2 separate regions of the Homo sapiens genome follow, and region 1 is linked to region 2. The links are contacts of gene promoters, found by promoter capture Hi-C in blood cells and fetal thymus (Javierre and others, 2016). All regions are on one chromosome and are shown on one strand. The core of a region is centred on a gene start or on the middle of the fragment in contact, and the rest is flanking DNA. Distances in the headings are between cores, read along the strand shown. Region 1 has its middle 39 kb from the start of LINC01549. Region 2 holds the start of C21orf91-OT1 (C21orf91 overlapping transcript 1).

What was found. Contacts are between HindIII fragments. The CHiCAGO score rates a contact against its expected background, and 5 or more counts as called.
Region 1: a contact is called between a fragment that was not itself captured here and the fragment with the promoter of C21orf91-OT1 in region 2, in 2 of 17 cell types (M0 macrophages and M1 macrophages). The highest score is 5.4, in M0 macrophages.

Annotation. Positions count from the first base shown.
Region 1 is chr21:17,398,391-17,402,035 of GRCh38, forward strand. No RefSeq gene overlaps it. Among named protein-coding and RNA genes, the nearest start is that of LINC01549, 39 kb to the right of the region's middle. The HindIII fragment of the contact is 9,913 bases long and covers 1-3,645 here.
Region 2 is chr21:17,789,809-17,793,758 of GRCh38, forward strand. C21orf91-OT1 (C21orf91 overlapping transcript 1) reads right to left here and starts at 2,701. Exons shown (of 4, transcript NR_038871.1): 1 at 2,669-2,701. C21orf91 (chromosome 21 open reading frame 91) reads right to left here. Exons shown (of 5, transcript NM_001100420.2): 5 at 1-3,773. The coding sequence ends at 3,607. All of the region lies in intron 2 of LOC124900465 (a long non-coding RNA gene), which reads left to right. The HindIII fragment of the contact is 3,892 bases long and covers 492-3,950 here.

The sequences.
Region 1 (3,645 bases), core at 647-3,146, 390 kb before region 2:
GTATTCAGAAATGAGCCACTCCGCAGTGTGTGTTTGCAAAGCCGTGAATCGTGGGCCTTTAATTTTCTTCGTGGGATTTTCAATAACCAACAGATGTTACTGAGCAATCTATAAAATGAAATTGTGAAAATAAAGGGAAAAAAAACCACCCACACCTTTTCTTTCTTTGCTATGTTCTTATGGTTGCTGCTACTTCACCCAAACAGATATTGCCTTTTCTGAAGGCACCAAATACCTGTTTGTAATTTGATTTTCAGAAATCTTAGCCAACATGTTCTGATTAGGCCTAAAGAAAATACGGTGTTGCTAATACCTCTTCATCACTGACTTACCTCCTTCAGGGGTTTGGGAAAAGGCTATTTTTTTTTTCTAAATTTCATCAGTGATATACTTGTGCAAAGCCCTGTGTGAAGACTGTTATCAGAGGCTGCCTCCTGGTAGATATGGACCCCCTGCCCTCAAACTCTCTACTATAGGTACATATTTTCTTATCTTCTCTGAGCATCACTTACTTTTAAAGCCATTAAAAAAAAATTGAGAGTTACAAAAAAATTCAGTCAGCACAAATTCCTAATGAAGGTGTTCAAAGCACCTTTTTTTTCTTTTTTTAACAGAGTCTCACTCTATTGCCCAGGCTGGAGTACAGTGATGCAATCGTGGCTCACTGCAGCTAATTGTTTAATTTTTTCTAAAGGCAGGGTCTTGCTGTGTTGCCCAGGCTGGTCTCAAACTCCTTATCTCAAGCAATCCTCCCACCTCGGCCTCTCAAAATGCTGCAAATACAGGCATGAACCACTGCATCGGCCTATAACTTTTTTTTTTGAGACAGAGTCTTGCTCTGTTGCCCAGGCTGGAGTGCAGTGGTGCAATCTCAGCTCACTGCAACCTCCACCTCCGGGATTCAAGTGATTCTCTTGCCTCAGCCTCCCAAGTTACTGGGATTACAGATGTGCACCACCACACCCAGCTAATTTTTAGTAGAGATGGAGTTTTGCCATGTTGGCCAGGCTGGTCTCCAACTCCAGACCTCAGGTGATCCACCCACCTCGGCCTCCCAAAGTGCTGGGATTACAGGCATGAGCCACCATGCCTAGCTGCGCGTTTTTTTTTTAATAGACTCCACTATAAAACATTTACTAATTCAACTCACATCCTTGAACTTAAAAACAGAGAAACAATCTAACTTACTGTCAACAATTGCTACAGGCCATGGGATGCCCCCTGCTTTTATGGCACCATGGACCCAGCATTTAGGGGAGGCAGTAGAGACACATCTAGGACTGAATTCCTACTCCACAAGTGTCTAGCTGTGTAATTTTTTAGGTATTAATCATGCCATACCTCAGTTTCTCTATCTGTAAAGTAAAAACTGTAAGGCCCAGCCAGGCACCGTGACTCATGCCTGTAATCACAATACTTTGAGAGGCTGAGGCAGGTGGATCACCTGAGGTCAGGAGTTCGAGACCAGCCTTATCAACATAGCAAAACACCATCTCTAACAAAAACTAGCCGGGTGTGGTTGCGTAAACCTGTAATCCCAGATACTCAGGAGGCTGAGGCAGGAGAATTGCTTGAACCCGTCAGGTGGAGGTTGGGTTGCAGTGAGCTGAGAGATCACACCACTTCAACTTCACTCCAGCCTGGGCAAAAAAGCGAAACTCCGTCAAACAAAAGAAAAGAAAGAAAGAAAGGAAAGAAAGGCAAGAAAGAAAGAAAGAAAGAAAGAAAAGAAAGAAAGAAAGAAAGAAAGAAAGAAAGAAAGAAAGAAAGAAAGAAAGAAATAAAGAAAGAAAGAAAGAAGAAAGAAAGAAAGAAAAGATAAAACAGTAAGGCCTTCACATATGCTTTACCACAGTAAGTGGCTTACTTCAGTAAGGCAATCAACAAACACAGAACTCTCTTTCCTCTTATTTCTTGAGGCATGGGGAAAGAGTATGCAGGCATGCCTACTTTCCCTTTCACATGACCCAGGTTCTGCACTGTCTCCTCTTATTTGGGATATGAGAAGAAAGGGAAGATGTTAGCCAATGAAAGACATCCTTGTGAGCTTGCATTCAATTCACATTAAAGGATCTGGAAAATCAGATCAACCCCCTGGGTTCTGCCCTTTCACTCAAGAGTCTGGACTTTGTTAAATCACCGGCAGATATATATTTTTTTTCGGTGACACTGTCAAATCAAAGGCCAGTGAGAGCTAGCAGGATTTCTCTCTTTGAAAAGGGTTTCTAAACAGAAATTACAGGACAATAGTAATTCACTTGTGTCCCTTTAGGAAACGCAGTAAAGAAAAACCATAAGCCATACAACAGACAAATAAATTAGCAGATTATAACCAGGAATTCCTCATCTTTTCTTCTTGGGTATTGTCTATATTATGATCTTGCATTTGTATAGAATAGAATACACAAAAATCTTAGGGCCTAGAATATTAGAGGCACTTAAAACCAGTAACCCCAATTTACAGATATAGAAACTGTTCACAGAGATCAATAGCCTTTTCCAACTTACTACAGCTTATTAGCAGTGGGTCTTATTTCTATCCATGCACTTTACTCTTTAGCTTGCAATTCACCAGCTTTAGCTTGCAATTTCAGACACAATGCAATTCATACACAATGCAATTCACAATTTAGCTTGCAATTCACTAGCTTTAGCTTGCAATTTCATACACAATGCAATTGTGTATGAAAACTGTATTTTTGCGTGCCACAGATTTATATAACTATATTATTCTGTGATTTAGGAATGAGCTAATAGGCTTTACTTTTATTTTAAGGAACTCTCAATAAAAGTTCTGCTTTTTATTTAAGTAAAAAATGTTAAAGGGCCGAGCACAGTGGCTCACACCTGTAATCCCAGCACTTTGGGAGGCTGAGGCAGGTGGATCACTTGAGATCAGGAGTTCAAGACCAGCCTGACCAACATGGTGAAATCCTGTTTCTACCAAGAAATACAAAAATTAGCCAGGTGTGGTGGTGCGCACCTGTAGTCCCAGCTACTCAGGAGGCTGAGGTGGGAGAATCGCTGTAACTCAGGAGGCGGAGGTTACAGTAAGCGGAGATCACACCACTGCACTCCAGCCTGGGTGACAGAGTAAGATCCTGTCTCAAAAAAAAAAAAAAGTTAAAGGGTGAGTGTAAAAGGAAAGGCTGGGTGTTTGGGGAATCAAATAGAAAATAAGGAAATTGTCTAACACTTCATTGGCAAGTCTAGAAATAAAAACGAGACTGTTTTTTCTGTTTCTTTCCTCCTTTGTATTGTCCTTAGGTTCCTCTCTGAAGGCAGAAATGTCAAAGATGCTTTGCTAAAACCCAAAAAGTTGCTATGCAACCTACATTTAAAATTATTTCTTCCTACCTAGAATCCCAGGGATCTATAATTTTGCCATCTAAGAGAGAAACATGCCACGTCAGAAGGAAGGAGAATATGACAGCAGATTTTGGAATCAATTGTCAATGTAGTTTGCTAGCTTATCATGGTTTCTTAGACACTGTGTGAGCAAATCTCACAAATGGAACTGATTTACCATAAAAATGTGCCTAATTTCCATTAAATCTTGTTCGTTGCTTTACTGAGGCACTGAAGTTACCAATGTTCCACTGGTTGACCTGCGGGGCTATCTCTAGGTTATGTTACTCCAGAAAA
Region 2 (3,950 bases), core at 1,451-3,950:
CCCTGCCCCATGACCACAAAACTTTACTTGGTAAGAATAAACTGTTGGGGGTTTTATCTCTTACTAATTCTCACCACAAATTTCCTCAAATAGTTACTCCCACCAACGTAAAAGTTAAAAATACAATCATACACTGAAACGGCATCAATTATCTTTGCCTTACATCTGAACAAAAAGTATTAACTTTTTTATAGCGTATTACACTTCTTAATAAGCACTTAGTAACAACATTTGTCAGTAAATGAACTGGCATACATCAGAAAAAGTTGACAATAGAAGAATTTTACATGGTACCATTTCAAATTTTCATGTACAAGTAACCCACTTTATGGTCACTAACCTGAACCTCCTAATAAGCTACACAAATAATTTACTCTTTAAAAATTCCTACTTTAGAGCATTTACATTTTATAATTTAATAATGAAAGCAGATTCTTCCAAAACAAAACAAAACCCAAACTGGGAAACATTAAAACACAAATAGATCTAAAAGCTTACTTTAAAAAAACTACAAAAATGGACTAACAAGCCTTACCAGTGTAAACACTAAGGTAAAAAATATATAAACAACATAAAGAAAACACAAAACCATTTTCAGTCATAAATATAGTAAAATGAAAAACCAAATCTCAAGATGCCTGTCAAGATATATTTGACTATATATTTTGACTATATTTCTGAAATCACTAACATGAACTTGACATTGAAAAAATAATCCTTAAATGTATATAAAAATGGGCACTTTGTGGTAAAATGAACATGTGTTTTGAAAAACTAAGAATGTGTCTTTGCTCCACCATTGTGCATAGTCAACGACACAACAAAACACTATTCTGCTGCCTGAATCATCTATTACTGGAGTCTCAAGTGCATGCCTTTTAAAAAAGACTAATTTAGATATTAATATGAGGATCAAAGGATAAGATGATAATCTCAAAGTAAAACATAATTGATTTTTAGCTTCATTATAAGGCTGAACTTTAAAGAGAACAACCTGTGTGGTCAAAAACACTTTTCTAATTTTTAAAACTCAATTTAACGTGTCAAATTATAAAACTGAACGTGAAAAAGATTTGTCTTATCTCACTCCCCTTAATCATATAAGCTCTGAAAATTTAGTAATGGATGACTGGCAGTCTGTTTTGCCACTTTTTAAACAGTAGTACATGAGATATGCTTCAAAACATTCTCAAAAATTACTAACAACTGTAGAGAATAGCCAAGTGTGGAAAACAATATTTGTGATATTTCATGTTCTCTTGTTAGAACTCAACTCTGTACCTGATACTTATATTTGCATACACAGTAATTGCATATTTGATTAAGAAAACTAACATAGGACTAAATTATAAGTTTACCAAACATTTGGATAAACTGCTGTGCAAAATACTTCAACAAAAAGTTTTTTTTACTAGGAACTCATCCAAATAAAGTAGTGTGAGTACCAGCACCACAAAGTTTTTTTTAAGAGCACCTCTCCTTTTTAGAGCTTAAGTAGAAATATCTAAATGGAATAAATCAGAGTCCCACTTAAGACCTTAGCACATGCACACGTTCATCCACTTGTTCCGTACTCATTAGCAAAGCTATGTATATTTGTCAGAAAACTCCTTTCTTTGGATAACACTGTTGTATTCAGGACTGCAACTTATGGCTCATATTCTGGAAATATGCTACTATTGATATCAAATGCAACATATCCCCAACTTTTATGACTGTCCCTAACTCATCTAAACACAAACCCAAATGTGTGCAAACACACTGGCTGGTAACAATCTTACTGAATTACGCCAAAAAAGAGTAAAGTCAAATTTGAAAATGTGGGAACAATTAAGCACTAAGATATTAATCAGGAAATGTATTTACCCAGCTTGTAAGTTTGAATATTTTGATATTGCACACATTTAATTTAAAGCTCATCAAAACTAAGGCAATGCATCCATACTCCCTGGATTTTAAATTCATTTTGCATGACTTAAAGAATTGAGAGAAATCGAAAGCATCTTTCAAAAATTCCCTCCAAAAAGTAATGTTATACTTCAAAGAAAAACAAAATCAACAGATATCAATTAATACCCTCAGGCCAATTTAACACGTCAGCATTACAAAAAGTTGTTTTCAATTAAACTGAAGTGTTTCTTTGCTTAAATACTTTCTTGTGTTCAACAACAAAATCTGACCCAAGCCAGGGTAGGCTGCCAAATTTAAGGCAAATGTCATTTATATCTTTATGCATGAAGCTGCCACGTTACTGGGCTTTTCAGCAGATACTTTCAAGCAAGGATCTACCTCATAAGTACATTCTAAACATGAGTTAAAAACAGAATTTAGAGCCCATTTTAATTCTGCATTGGTTATAGCCTTTACTGTAATACATTATTAAAATTTATCTAGCTGTTTGGCACAATCTGTTAGATAAAAACTCTTTGGAAGCATCATAGGCAACTTACGAGAACATTCTCTTAATACATAGGTTTATTTTTTTTTAATTAGGAGTTTTGCTTTTCTTCTGTAGAACAATCCTATATTTCTCTATAGAGTCTAAAGTTTAGAAAAATACCTCACAATGCTTTCTTTGAGCACTAAGTTCAATGATGGTGATAATACAATTTGGACAGTTTAAGTATTCTTGAAACTTTACCCAAAGTGGCACACAAAATAATCTTACTTTTTTTTTTCAAAGACAGAACAATTTCACAGCACACTCAATTTGAAGATAGACATTATATTTGAATTGGAAGTGAGGCTTGACTTACTCTGTCCAAATTCTAATGCATCACAGTCACTGGTGTGAAGCTAATAATGAAAGAAGCAAGAGGAGGCTTTCATTTCTATGGAGACAAATTGACATAGAAGCCAGATTAGTCTTTTCTTCCTGAACTAAGAACTGCTTTTGTTAGAAAACAAAATAATGTATTGTATTTACCTGAATACTGCTTTAAAAAGTTATTAATTCTTCTTTTACAAGAGGTATTAGAAATTAAAACAACTCAGATTTCTAATCCAAAATATATTTATCTTTGGAAAGCAAGGTAACCGTTGTGAAAACATTGTATTAAGAGAATAAAATGCAGTGACCTGAAATATGGGTGAACATATTCACACATGATAATGTAAATAAATATACAGAACCACTCAAATACACATTTATAAAGAGAATGGCAAAGTACCTAAAATAGCATTTTCACATATAAAATTTTTATATTAAAATATTGCTCATAATAAATAAGAGGTGATATGAATTCCATTTCCCTCTTAAAAATTATCTCTAGTAGTTTACACTAAGGAGTTAATCTGTTGTTTTGACAGGTGAATTAAAATGTTTAATAAAATGACACTGTAACAGTATATTTAAGTAGTCACATGTGATAAAATTTGTTTAGTAATTCTGGGAAAAAAGAGTCCCCAAATGAGCCAAAATGATTAGCCCTAGAAGACTAGAGTATAATGATCTGCTTTATTTGACAAAGATGTTAAATACTGCCTTATGTTTGGCAAATTTAATGACCATAAAAAAACGGACCACAACTTTCTTCAAACTTCTTCAAAGTTTGCATGTCTGGGAGACCAATAAAGGGCAGGGCATACGAAGTAAGTCTGTTTAGGTCAGTTGTTTATGGGTAGGTGCGACTTCATTCCTGTTCGCCCTACTTGCAGACATGGTAACTTAGAACAGTTCTTCAGAAGCTGTTCGATGGCAACGTGGCGGACATGGAGCTGTGAGGCCAAAGAATCTTTTTCTTGCACTTGGTGAGTTAACTCTTCAAAAACTTCTGTAAAAGATTTAAAAACTTTCATTTTTAGTATGCAGAAAGCCGGTGCTATGATTTATATTTCAAGAACTCTAACTGAAATCTATGCATTGGGCAAAGTGTCACAATGAAACTGATTTGATACCAAGGAAACAGTTCTGTTCTCTACAAAGCATATCAGTTCTGATCATCCTAGGC